2 separate regions of the Homo sapiens genome follow, and region 1 is linked to region 2. The links are contacts of gene promoters, found by promoter capture Hi-C in human tissues and cell types (Jung and others, 2019). All regions are on one chromosome and are shown on one strand. Each heading gives the region's core, a stretch centred on a gene start or on the middle of the fragment in contact. The rest is flanking DNA. Distances are from core to core; before and after follow the strand shown.

Region 1 (6,478 bases), core at 3,979-6,478, 180 kb before region 2:
TGAAGGACATGAAATAAGGCAGTGGGATAAAGAAGTGTGGCATGGGAGACAGGCGGGCTTCTTGGTTAGATATGACAGGAACAGCCTCTTAGAAAAGTGATGTAAAGTAAAAATAAAGGCCCTAGCCCTCCAGGCAAGACGGAATAGACTCTTTGTGGCAATAAGATAGCAAATTATGGGCTGGGCGTGGTGGCTCATGCCTGTAATCCAGCACTTTGGGAGGCTGAGGCCCTCGTTCCATGTCCTTCTATGTTAAACCATCCCCCAAATGGTGTGAAGTCCCCAGAATGGCTGGCCCCGCCATTTCTCTATTTTGTTTTCTCTAACCTCCTGCCCTCTCTCTTCCACCTCCAGTATATGGCACGGCACATTGGAGGTGCTCAAAAATGATTTAATAAATGAATGGAGAAAGCACATAGGCAGGACATCCTAGTACCAATGATGAATGAGTGTTTATGGCAGATGTGACCCAGGTCCTCAGAGGCACATGAAAAATGCTAATGAACGGCAGCACTCATTATTCACTGTATGAACGTGGCTTCAAGCAGTAGAGATGTTAAAGCATCCTGTAATGGAGTATAACTGTTTTCTCTCTCTCTCCTTTTTTTTTTTTTTTTTTTTATGAGGCGGAGTTTTGCTCTTGTTGCCCAGGCTGGAGTGCAGTGGTGTGATCTCAGCTCACTGCAACCTCTGCCTCCTGGGTTCAAGGAATTCTGCCTCAGCCTTCCAAGTAGCCAGGATTACAGGTGTGCACTACTACATCCAGCTAATTTTGTATTTTTTGGTAGAGATGTGGTTTCCCCGTGTTGGTCAGGCTGGTCTCGAACTCCTGGCCTCAGGTGATCCACCTGCCTCAGCCTCCCAAAGTGCTGGGATTATAGGCATGAGCCATCATACCCGGCCAAATTGTTCTCTCAATGGGCCCTTGCAACAATTCTTGAGGGTCAATAGGAAACCCTGTTTTCTGGAGGAGGAAACAGGCACAGAGAGATGAAGTCGCACCCCCAGTTGCATTGAGAGTTGATGGCAGAGCCAATGGTCACACCTGCCTGTTTCCCAGGTGGAGTCTGTCTTCTCTTGAGGCTGCCGCTGACCCTCAATGGAACACAGGCACGCAGTGCCTCAGCAACCAGCCGCTCAGAACTCCTCCTGGGCCTTTCTCAGAGCCTGGGACCTGGAACTTTGTGCTATGAAATGCCTATCAAAGTCCTGGCTCTGGGAAGGGACCCCAAGTTCTTGTAATTCTGTCTGTGGATCATAGCAGGTCCTCTGATGGCTAGACACAGGGATCATAGGCTCTTGGCTTGCAATGCGGAAGATTCATGTTGCACCACTGGCCCTTACTGAATTCTATTACAATAAATAACTATACAAAACTAATCTCCACATGTGCTATAAAAATACCTTGAGGTCGTTGACTACCATGTGACTCTTTGTCTGTGATAAAAATTTAAGCAGGAAAAATTCTTAGTATTTGTTAAACAAAGCTCTGTATGCTTCAAAAAATGTCTGCAGTCTTCTCTCTGAAAATACTAGCCAATGTTTACTGAGTACTGTGAGGAGATGGGAGAGTCCCACACGTGCACATGTGTTGTTTCTTACTCACAGGTCATTTTATGATTACCCCTACTTACGTATGGGGAAACCAAGACACAAACAGAGGAGTTCATTGCTAAAAGCACACAGCTAAAAGGTGGTAGGGCTCTACCACCTGCTGTGTAAAATGAGAGACTTCAGGCTGGCCGGGGTCCCCTTCCACTTGGGCAGCTGGGCAGCTCAGAGTGAAACGGGCGGCTCCCTGCAGCCATTGTCACATGGTTGATGTGTTTGTGGTCTTCCTTCACTTCATCTAGACTTCTCAATTTTATTTACATTTTACTGTTTCCTGGTGTTTTTTCCTACTGTCAGCTAACTCAAGCTTTATAAAATAAAGAAGAGTGAAAACACGCACACACCAATATATGTACTTAAATGTTTCTGGGATGAATACTTTTTAAATAAACATTAAACACAGATATTTCTATCTCCATTGTCTGAGCAATGAAGTTGTGAATGTTTTCCTCATGACTCTTCATGGGGGTTTGCCCTTACATGCTGTGCACACAGGACTTGGCCCTGTGAAGTGGACGCAGTGAACACAGACGCGGGCTGGTGACGTTTTCACGGTAGGACATCCATCCTCTGTGGCACATGTGGAGTGAACTAGCTTACACATGACACGGAGTCCACATCCCTCCAGCCCTGTCTTTGAGATGCCTGTCCTGGCTGAGAGGAACCACAGTCAGTCACCGGGGCAGTAGTGCCCTCTTTTGGCCACTCCTCTCCTCCCTTAGTATAATTTAGGGAGACCTAAGACTTCGCTCACCTCAACTGAATTGCCTGCCTTTAGTTTAGCCCCACGATTAGTCAACTCTGGCGGGAGAAGAGGTGGAGACTGACTCCTGCCTTCCTTCCCGCCTGGTTTCTAAGGAGGAGGACAGTGTGTGCACTACCTGTGGGTGTGTGGGTCAGAAAACGCTTAGCAGCAACTGGTCTACTGAAAAATGGCCTGCTTCCCCAAAGCTTGGACAACGCCCAGTTCTCTAGGTTGTCGTGCCTTAGAGTGTTTTCTTCCTCCTTTTGTAACTAGGCAAAACAGTCTTAAGCATAACCAGAAAGCTGTCGAAAAAAAAAAAACAAATCACAGAAGATATTTGAAAGTGTGCTCTAACGAGTTATTTACTTAGATTGAAAACAATCCTTTGGTGAGATTTTTACCAGAACATGAAGGGCAAATAAAACTTCAAAGTGGATTGCTAAGAGAATGACTGGCTTTGGCCTTCACAGAGACGAGGAGGAAGGCTGCGTGGTTTTAGTTGTCTGTTTGTGGTTTTGAGCACTCAATGTGTGAACCATAGCAATAGCACCTGTGCCAGAGTCAGCACCTGGCACAAACTTCTCAATGCGCCAATCAGTCTTAACTCGGGGACTCTCTTATCAGCTGAAATACAACACTATTGCCTTTCGACGTTCACAGAGATCTTAGGTATGCGTGTCCTGCAGAGTGGTTAGCTAAGGATGATGGCTTTCTGCCCATTTCTCACATTCCTCGCTCATTCTTCTGATGCGTGGATGAAACGGCTGCCAAGAACCTAGAGATGACCATCACACGATCACGGTGACTTGTGCTCACGGGACATCAGGAATGGTTTCCCAACGTACTGATGGGATTTACTATCATGTCAAGGAAAGACCTTTTCCTAAAGTAGGTGGGAGCTGCTGCTCTCATTTAGAGTCACTTTATACATTACAATTTTAAAAGAAATTGCATATATGCCTCCAAGGTTATACAGCCAAGACTAATAGCCAAGATTATTTTAGTTTCTTTTCCTTCAGCACTCTGCGCCTTTAGAGTAGAGTTCTGTGTGCCCCAGGAAAGGGTCAGGCATGGGAAATTATTAAGGTCAATAGCAAAAGCCCCACAGTTCAACAGGCCCTTCCAGGTCGGCATCACTTGGGATTGTTGCTGCTAAATAATGCGTGCAGAGGCCTCCTGGGCCAGCCTCCCCTAGGGTGGATGAAATGAGGATGCCTGGACCACAAGCTCCTCCCACTTCCCCCTTGGTTTTGACTCAACCTGAATCAGGCATCAGCTGCAAAGGCCTGAAGGTGACTCTTGAGAACTGCTTCCTCGGCACACTCACGGGCAGAAAGGCTTGGAATGTGGGAGCTAAGTTCATTCGGCAGATATGCGAGCCTTGCTCCGGTGTCCAAGGACCTGGGAACACCTCAGTAAACACAACAGGCAGAAGTATTGCTCTTCCTATCAAAACACAACCCACGTTTGTGAAATGATGGAAATATTCTGCATTTCCATCATTTCCAGTAGTTTTCACATTCAATCCTAGGTAATAACTCTCTAAACTCAGTATCTCTTGGAAAAGATTAAGGAGGGCTGCGTTTGGAAGGGCTTCAGGAATGATATCATCTTGATAGCGTAAGGAAAGGGCTAAGTATAGAAGACCTTTTTATGTTATATTGTATCCATGCTGTATATATACCTATACATATGTGTGTGTGTGTGTGTGTGTGTGTGTATGTGTGTATTTGATGGTAACAGAACCGCTGCCATCGTTACGAATAATCTCAAAAGCAATTAGCTAGGGGAATAATGATAAAGATGATGTTTGCTTAAAAAAACAGTAGGCTTAGCCAAAATCATTCTAGAACTCACTTTTATTTATGTGTAAAACCTAAATTTGGACATTTGTCTTCGTGCTTTTCTATTACGTCTTTATATATGTAGCTGAAATGTATGAGTAAAGAGATCATCTAAATGAATTTTTATTCTAGAGTTTTATAGGCAGATTTATTCTTAAAACCATCAAGGCTGGGACATCCCATTCAAACTCATAGATTGTCTATTCTACGAAACCCTAAGTGTTCTCCAGAGTGCACGCTGCTGCTCCTAGTCATGGACGCGGCTGCCTTCAACTCCTTCCTCTTCTTCCTCTGCCACTGAGGATGGAAACCCCAGTACCTGAAGGCGGTGAGTTATGCTCAGACATGCCTCCAAGAAAATTCCTATAAAGAGCATAATAAAGTATGCAGAAATCAGCAGAGCACTGAGTCCCTTTTGCACTTGCCTATCTCCTTTCTAGTAAAGGAGTCCTCATTGCTTTCAGTCTCTGGGCCTTTGAGTTATGTTGATTTTCATGGACGCTTAAGATATTGAAACAGTCGGTAGCACTAAATCTGTTTTATGTGTGTTTGCTCAAGAAGGATGGAATTGTAGAAAAGAAAGGACTTTTGAAAAAGAGCAAGTTAATCACGAACAAAAAAAATCGGCATAAATTATCTTGTCTAACAGCTGAAATATAAAGAAAGGCCTTTCCATAAATAAGCAAAGATCATGCTAGGGAATGTGGCCAGGAAGCCTGTTTGCCTTGAATGTTGTCTGTAACCTACAGGGTGGCCTGATCTTGGGGAAAGGGATGCGTATTTTAGTAGCCACAAAATCACTCCTTTTTCCTTCGACCTATAGTGAGTTCTCAGGATCTGAGCACATTTCATTCCACCCCTTTTCCTCTTTGCTTTAGGAATAGATGAAGAAAATCAAAGAGCTGTGCACAGCAGAATAGAACTGCTTTGAGGACCTGCATAGCCCTGTGGTCTTGGGCAAGTCACTGAGCCTCAGTGTCATGATGGGACGAGTGGATCCAACCTCATTAATGTAAACCTCAAATGAGAACATGGTCAGTCACTCATAGGGGAAGCAGAAACAAAGATGAATGCTAAGATTATATCTTGGTTCATTTTCTATTGCTATAACTGAATACCTGAGACTGGATAATTTATAAAGAAAATAAATTTATTCCTTACAGTTCTTGAGGCTGGAAAGTCCCAGGGCATGGCACTGGCATCTGCTCAGCTTCTGGTGAGTGTGCCATGACGTGGTGGGTGGCATCGCATGGTGACACAGATTAAGAGTTGGCTCAGGCCTCTCTTCCTCTCCTTACAAAGCCACTGGTCTCATCAGGGGCCCCACCCCAATGACCTGATGACTAGGTCTCTGCTCCTAGTTACATCCCAAAGGCCCCACGTCCAATTAACATAGAAATTTAGGGGGTTAAGCTTCCAACACACGAAATGTAGGGGACACATTCAATCCACAAAAATATGTAAAGGCAATTTATATTCAATAAGGCAATACAAAAAAGTAAAATTCTGAAGACAACAGTTATTTCCCAATGCCTTCTGAGTCACTCTTTGTGGTTAAGATAAACACCGTGGTATCCAGGCTTTGGTGCAATTTCATTTCCTCATTAGCTATTTTTTACAAACACTGCTAGGCTTCCCGATGCTCACACAGGGCTGGACAAACAGACGATCAGAGAAACACCATACAGTGAGCCTGGGAAATGCTGAATGTCTATGTGTGCAACAAGGCATGCGAGCAAAAACAAAACCGAGATGGGAAGGGATTGCAGGAGGGGAGGAAGGGGCTGTATCTGCCACGTATCTACACAGCCGACATTTTAATTTTTTTTAGACAGCGTCTTGCTCTGTTGCCCAGCCTGGAGTGCAGTGGAGCAATCATAGCTCACTGCAGCCTCGACCTCCTGGGCCCAAGTGATCCTCTCACTTCAGCCTCCCAAGTATCTGGGGCCACGGGTGCATGCCACCACACCTGGCTAATTTATTTATTTTATTTTTTGTAGAGACGAGGTCTCATTGTGTTGCCCGGGCTGGTCTTGAGCTCCTGGGCTCAAGCGATCCTCTTGCATAGACCCCATGAAGTGTGCGATTACAGACATGAAGCAATGATCCCAGCCTCTATGTTTTAGTAATGAGTACAGACAGATCCATGGATCACCCATGCAATAAAAAAATCAAAGGCTTCCCCGAGTGAGAGTGCAGGTGCACGCTGTCACCATGTGGCGCCATGTTGCCGATATCTGCGTCACCTACCGAACACTTCGTTGTCCTCTGAGGTTGT
Region 2 (6,829 bases), core at 3,076-5,575:
AGACTCCAAGGACTTCAGATATTAGAATTTTCAGAATATAAAATCAGCACATTTAAAATATTCAGATAAATAGGAGAGGTAATTAGAAACATCAGCAATGAGGAAGAAAATATTAAAAAATAGGCCTGGCACATTTGAAAAAATTCTGTGAGAACTTAAGGAGAGTAGTTAAATCAAGGGTGTACAGCTGAAGAAATACCAATAAATTGGCACAGATGAAGAGATGAAAAGTATGAAAAAGTGAGTCAGTGATAGGAAGGAGATAGTGGAAAGGCCTAAGCTATGTCTCTCAGAATTCCAGGAGGAGAGAGTGCCAAGAATGGGGAAAGTAAAAGAGATAATGGCTGAAAATTTTTCCAGAACTGATGAAAAATATATTAATCTTTAGCTTCAGAAGCTCAACAAGAAGGGCTAAAAAATGAAAATCATCACAAACCTATCAAAGTGAAATTATAAAACATCAATGATAAAGAGAAGATATTAGAAATAGAGAAAAAAGTCAGATTATCTCTAAAGGAGTGACAGAAAGCACATCAGCTGATTTCTCAAGAGCAGGAGCAAAATCCAGAAGGTGGAAAAATATCCTCAGTGTACTGGGAGAAAAGAACTGTCCATCTGGCCAACTCCCATTCAATAATAAGAGCCAATGAGCAATTTTTATCATTGACTATCACTAAAGGAAAACTTAAAATATATTCTCTAAAAACAAGGAAAAGGCTTAAGATGAATAGAGGAAGGTGCAGAAAGCCATGGGTAAGAATGTGGGTCACCAAACTGGATATTGCCTGTATCACACAACAAATATGCCGAATTGGGGGGAAATTAAAAGAACTAAACAACTGGGCAACAAAACCAGGTAGAATGACAAAAAGTGACTGGAGTTAGAAGGCTTCCTGAAACTTGTATGGCTTGGGAGAAGGGGAGTGATAACAATTAATTTTAAATTCTATTTAATATTAATAGAATTTTAGTAACTTCTGAATCCATGTCTCCAGCTCTGGTCTCTCTCATTAACTCAAGACTAATCCACCCAACTGCAGTCTTGTCAGTCCCATGTCTAGCAAGCACCTAAAATTTAACTTGATGCTCCACACCTCCAAACCTGTTCCTTCCACTCTTTGTGTCAACTCAGTAAATGGTGATTTCCCATCCAGGCTGTCAGACTAAAACCGTGGTAGTCAACCTTGCTCTCCCTTTTCTCCCACCTTAAATCCATCCACCAACGAATCTCATTTGCTACAACATTGAGATATCCAGAATCCAGGTCCTTCCCACCACACCTAGAACGATCTGTTGTCTGGGTTCCTGCAAGCTTACTGGTTGGTCTTCTGCTCTTTTCTTTGCTCTTCTAATCTGTACTCCAGAATCATCATTCTGAATCGCAGGTCAGAGCATAACATCTCTCTGCTTGAAACTCCCTATAGGACTTCCTCCGAAGTCCAGAATGAAGTCCCAGGCCCCTTCCTTGCTCTCCAAGGTCTGAGGTCATCCATCCCCATTTTCCTGAACCAATGTTTTCTGACCTCGTGGCTGACAAATCTTCTTCCCAGCTGTTTCCATGACAGCAAAACTGTACTCCTCGTTCTTCACACAGCTTCCTCTGCTGCACTGTTTCCCGGGAATGTGTCATGCCACGTGTTTAAAAGGTTTCCTTCTGTACTTCCTTCAGGTTCCTACTCAAATGTCAGTTTTTCAGATGTTTCTCCCTATTGCCCTGTATATAGTTATACTCTCTAACTGCTCTCTATCCCTTATCCTGCATTCTTCTCTTTTAGGGTTGTATTAGGCCATTCTTGCATTGCTATAAAGAAACACCTGAGGCTGGGTACTTTATAAAGAAAAGAGGTTTCATTGGCTCACAGTTCTGCAGGCTGTACAGGAAGCATGGTGCTGGCATCTGCTCAGCTTCTGGGGAGGTCTCAGGAAGCTTCTAATCATGGCAGAAGGTGAAGGGGGAGCAGATACATCTTACATGGCAGGAGCGGAAGCAAGAGAGGGAAGGGAGGAGGTGCCACACACTTTCAAACAACCAGATCTTCAGACTCACTGTCCCGAGGACAGCACCAAGCCATGAGGGATCCACCCCATTGATCCAAACCCTCCCACTGGGCTCCACCTCCAACATTAGGGATTATAATTCAATAAGAGATTTGGCGAGGACAGATATCTAAAGTATATCAGTAGTGTTTACCACATGTGACATTATCATTTTATTTATTTTTAAATGTCGTGTCCATAATGAAATGTAAAATCCATAAAAGAAAGTACTTTGTTGTGTTAATTGCTCTATCTCCAGAACCTACAATAGTTCCTGGCACATAGTAGGCACTCAAGGGTAACCAGTAAAACAATAAATATACACTATATTTCTTCCTTTTCCAAGAATGTGGAGGGAGGGAGAAAACACTTTAAAATGCAATTCAAAAGATGTCATGAAAAGAGAGAGAGAGAGAGAGAGAAAAAGCACAGAAATAGAAAACAAATAAAAAGTACAAAATAAAATGTTAAAAATAAATCCATATAGGTTAGTAATAACAATAAATATAAATGACCTAAACTCACCAGTTAAAAACTAGAGATTTTAAAATTGTGTTTTAAAATAATTCAGTTATGTGCTATATTAAAGAGATACCTTTAAATTGCAGGACATAACATAGGAAGGCTGTAAAAGATGTAACAGGCAAATACAAAGCAAAGAATGTTGTTGTACTTATAGCAATAACAGACAAATTATACTTTAAGGCAAAAACAAACAAAACATGTACCATAATACCAACCACATAATGTTAAAGCAAAAAAAAAAAAAAAAAAAAAAAAAATCACCACAATATATTAAGATCATATGCGTATGCCAAAAATGTATAAAGAAATGACTAATAGACAACAAATTTAGGTTACTTGGAGATAGTGGGAGAGGTGGAGGTTGTGACTGGAAAATATATAAAAGTGACTTCAACTCTAGTGATAATATTTAAAAATTATTCTAAGCTAGATGGTGGGTGCATTGGTATTCAATGTAATTTTATCATATCTGTTTCATGTGAAAATAGTTCATAATTTAAAAACTCTCCCAAATCATATTACTACTAACTTTCAATGCAACAGAGCTGTCAAATACAACATGATACTTTGAAAGCCTGGGTCGGAGAGCGTCTCAGGGAAGAAAAGCAATACGGATTGGCAAGATCACCTGAGGAAGTTTCAAGGCATTCTCTCAGGTCGGGGCAGGTAAGAGCATTCTTGGCTTTAGCAGGATACCCAAATAGGCAAGTTGCTTACACTCAATTTTGTCTTCCAGAAAATGTGTGTGAATAGAACAATTCCCTTGCAAGGAACTCCCTAGCAATGAATGTAGATAAAATACATAGATGTTCAATGAACTGCATCAAGATTTATCTGGAAATGAGGCAGAACAGAGCTAGCAAGGTAGAAAAACAAGATCCTACTTCCTTAACTCCTCAAGGCAAAGAGCCCCTGCCCTCTTTGGTCTTTGGATTACCCATCCCCTCAGGCACTGCGTCCGCGCATAATGGACAGTCACCAGATGGTGAATGCTGGAAACGCATCGGTGTTTTTGAAAGTGAAAACAGACAAATCACCGCAAATAAAGGAATCAGTGTCAGCTCTCTAGCTGGGAACCACCAAGGTTACAAAGCTAACGTGACTGGCCCTGCTATACCGAAACGGCTTAATTTCTTTCTGGCAAATCCACATTTACGGCAGTAAGATACTAAACACTTTCTTTCACTTTAAAAATATTTCGTTTGTCACTGCTGCAGTTTATGTCCCTCAGATGAGTAATACAAGGCAAAAATGAAGTGAGGTTGGGTGGTGTGAACAGCCTTCCCCTTCCATGTCAGCCACGTCTATAGAGAAGCTCACGCGGCCCTTTCCCTTTGCACTTCTCTCCTCTGTAGCAGGCCGCGGGGTGAGGGTGGGATTAGGCGGCCAATTTTACAAAACTCCAGGGAGCGTCGCCAGCCTCGATTTCCTGGGGTTATTCCTGGGAGAGAGGCGTTCTCACGGACAGCCACCCTGGGGAGGAGGAGGAGGAAAGGCACTAATGGATGAGGAGGCCCGCGCACCCCTCCGCCTCCCACCCCGGCGCGCCCTGGAACGCCCTGGAGCGCGCCCGGCTTCCCTCGCCCGCCTGGCCCGCGGCATCCGGCAGCCCCGCCTTCAGCCCGCCGGGCAGGTCCGCACTCCGCAGAGGCGAGCGCGCTCCGGTTCCAGCCGGGAGGTGGGCGGCGACCCATCCCGCTAGAATCCGTCCAGTCTCTGCTCGCGCACCGTGACTTCTAAGGGGCGCGGATTTCAGCCGAGCTGTTTTCGCCTCTCAGTTGCAGCAGAGAAGCCCCTGGCACCCGACTCTATCCACCACCAGGAAGCCTCCCAAAAGAGCTCTCGCCCTGTGGACGACTCGGAATCCCTGGAAAAGCCGGGAGGGAGTCGGAGGCGCCAGCCCACTGGGGAGGTGGCGCTGGGCGCGCGGGATGCGCGGGGAGCCTTCTCTGCAGGAGCCGCACAGTGCACTGCTGCGCGCTGGGCAGTGCGGGGAAGCGCCGCGGGAAGGAGCGGCTCCGAGCAACAGGTGCAGCACGCAGCCCCTCCGGGAGCCAGGGAAAACCGCCGGCGAAGATCTGGAGCGGTAAGGCGGAGAGAAGGGTCTTTCCACCTGCGCGGCTGCAGCCGGCGGATCCCTCTTCCCAGGCTCCGTGGTCGCGCAGCGGGCGGAGGCGCCCGGGAAGGGGACCCCAGTGCTCTCGAGATCACCGTCCCTTCCCGAGAAGGTCCAGCTCCGGGCTCCCGAACCCACCCTCTCTCAGAAGGTCCCGGCGCAAAGACGGTGCCACCAGGCACGGCCACCGGATCCCCGCTCCCGCTGGCTCGCGCCTCGGGGGAAGCTCAGACTCCTAAACTCGCACTCTCCGTGCTTTGCGCCGGGACCCCTGGCCACCCCCGGCGCCTACTATCCCGCCCTCCCTCCCCGCGCGCCCCGCCGCTCGCCGGGACAGCCCCGCGGGCCATGGAGCTGGCGGTCGGGAACCTCAGCGAGGGCAACGCGAGCTGGCCGGAGCCCCCCGCCCCGGAGCCCGGGCCGCTGTTCGGCATCGGCGTGGAGAACTTCGTCACGCTGGTGGTGTTCGGCCTGATCTTCGCGCTGGGTGTGCTGGGCAACAGCCTAGTGATCACCGTGCTGGCGCGCAGCAAGCCGGGCAAGCCGCGGAGCACCACCAACCTGTTCATCCTCAACCTGAGCATCGCCGACCTGGCCTACCTGCTCTTCTGCATCCCCTTCCAGGCCACCGTGTACGCGCTGCCCACCTGGGTGCTGGGCGCCTTCATCTGCAAGTTCATCCACTACTTCTTCACCGTGTCCATGCTGGTGAGCATCTTCACCCTGGCCGCGATGTCCGTGGACCGCTACGTGGCCATCGTGCACTCGCGGCGCTCCTCCTCCCTCAGGGTGTCCCGCAACGCGCTGCTGGGCGTGGGCTGCATCTGGGCGCTGTCCATTGCCATGGCCTCGCCCGTGGCCTACCACCAGGGCCTCTTCCACCCGCGCGCCAGCAACCAGACCTTCTGCTGGGAGCAGTGGCCCGACCCTCGCCACAAGAAGGCCTACGTGGTGTGCACCTTCGTCTTCGGCTACCTGCTGCCGCTCCTGCTCATCTGCTTCTGCTATGCCAAGGTGCACGCCGGTCGCGGGGCCGAGACGCGCGAGGGAGGGCGGAGGGCCGGTGGGGGCCCTGGGGTCTCAGTGTCCCGCGGCCCTGCCGGAGCCTTGGCGGCAGCCTGGCCCCGGTGGTCCCCACTCTGGCGGCGCTGGTACGGATCTGTGCAGAGAGGCTTCCTGGCCGCTGCTGGAGCGTGCCATTGGCTTGCGCAAGAAAGTTACTTGGAGTCTGAGAGATGCTGGGGAAAGTTTGCAGTTCACTTCGCATGGTCCAGTAGAACCAGTTTCTCCTCCCCTCCCCTTCCTCGGCCCTGCGGCCCTTCAACGCCCCCAGGTTGCCTGGGCGGTAGGTAGGCGGGCGCTGCCGCATCCTTCCCGGTACAGCAAACCCCGCTCGGTTCCAGCAACTCTTCAACCAGATCAGCTGCGCGGGGAGGTTACCGCCGCGGCGCTGTGGGACCTGAGGAGAGCTCTGGTGGTCACCAGAGCGCGGACCTTTTGCGAGGGTGACGGGTCCCCACAGCTCCCTCCCGGGCTCTCAGCTGGCCGTGGCGGGGGGGACTCGCGGGGCGGCCCCTCTCCCCCGGGGTGCGCAGTTTGCCCTCGCTCCGAAGGCTTTGCGCACACCGGGCTCTGTGAAGCCGCTGCTCCCGGGGACAGAGCCTCGAATTTTATTTTATTCTGAAGCTTAGCTTTGTAAACCCAAGTGCAAAAGGGTGTTTCTTTACAGAGTCTTGACCGCAGGCTCCAGGAACTTGGAATGGAATGGACTCGAGCTTTCGGCTTCCCCATTTCAATCCTTTTTAGAAAGGTCTCCTGAACAGGGTGAAGTGGTTGAGGCGGCGGGTCTTCACCCTAACTGTAGCAGAGGCACCGTCCACGCGTGTGGGAGATAGTTTTTCCCTTTGTACAGCCGGGCAGAGCTCAGCACTCACATTCTTTTTCTCATTAAGTCCACAAGGGTTTGAAGACTTTATACTGATCAAAACGTCTTCAGCCTTTGACATACGTGTTTTTATTTGCGTAAACGGGAGCTTATTTTAATAATCAGGTGATGGCGATTCACCGGGTAAACCCTAATGTGCGCAACCTCCTCGCTCCAGAGCATCGCCATTTGAAATACAGCTGTTACCAGTTCCACCCGACTTCACC

Evidence for each region. Contacts are between HindIII fragments. The study calls those that stand out against the background at their distance.
Region 1: a fragment that was not itself captured here is called in contact with the fragment with the promoter of GALR1 in region 2 in 2 of the 25 tissues and cell types used here (H1 embryonic stem cells and mesendoderm cells).

What each region holds. Positions count from the first base shown.
Region 1 is chr18:77,059,848-77,066,325 of GRCh38, forward strand. MBP (myelin basic protein) reads right to left here. Exons shown (of 9, transcript NM_001025101.2): 3 at 6,451-6,478. Among named protein-coding and RNA genes, the nearest start is that of MBP, 70 kb to the right of the region's middle. RefSeq lists enhancers at 3,367-3,456, 4,872-6,071. The HindIII fragment of the contact is 5,976 bases long and covers 2,241-6,478 here.
Region 2 is chr18:77,245,523-77,252,351 of GRCh38, forward strand. GALR1 (galanin receptor 1) reads left to right here and starts at 4,326. Exons shown (of 3, transcript NM_001480.4): 1 at 4,326-5,692. The coding sequence starts at 5,027. It overlaps LOC124904329 (a long non-coding RNA gene), which reads right to left and starts at 5,929. Exons shown (of 2, transcript XR_007066422.1): 1 at 5,326-5,929; 2 at 2,187-4,035. RefSeq lists enhancers at 3,962-4,633, 5,305-5,976. The HindIII fragment of the contact is 7,211 bases long and covers 1,620-6,829 here.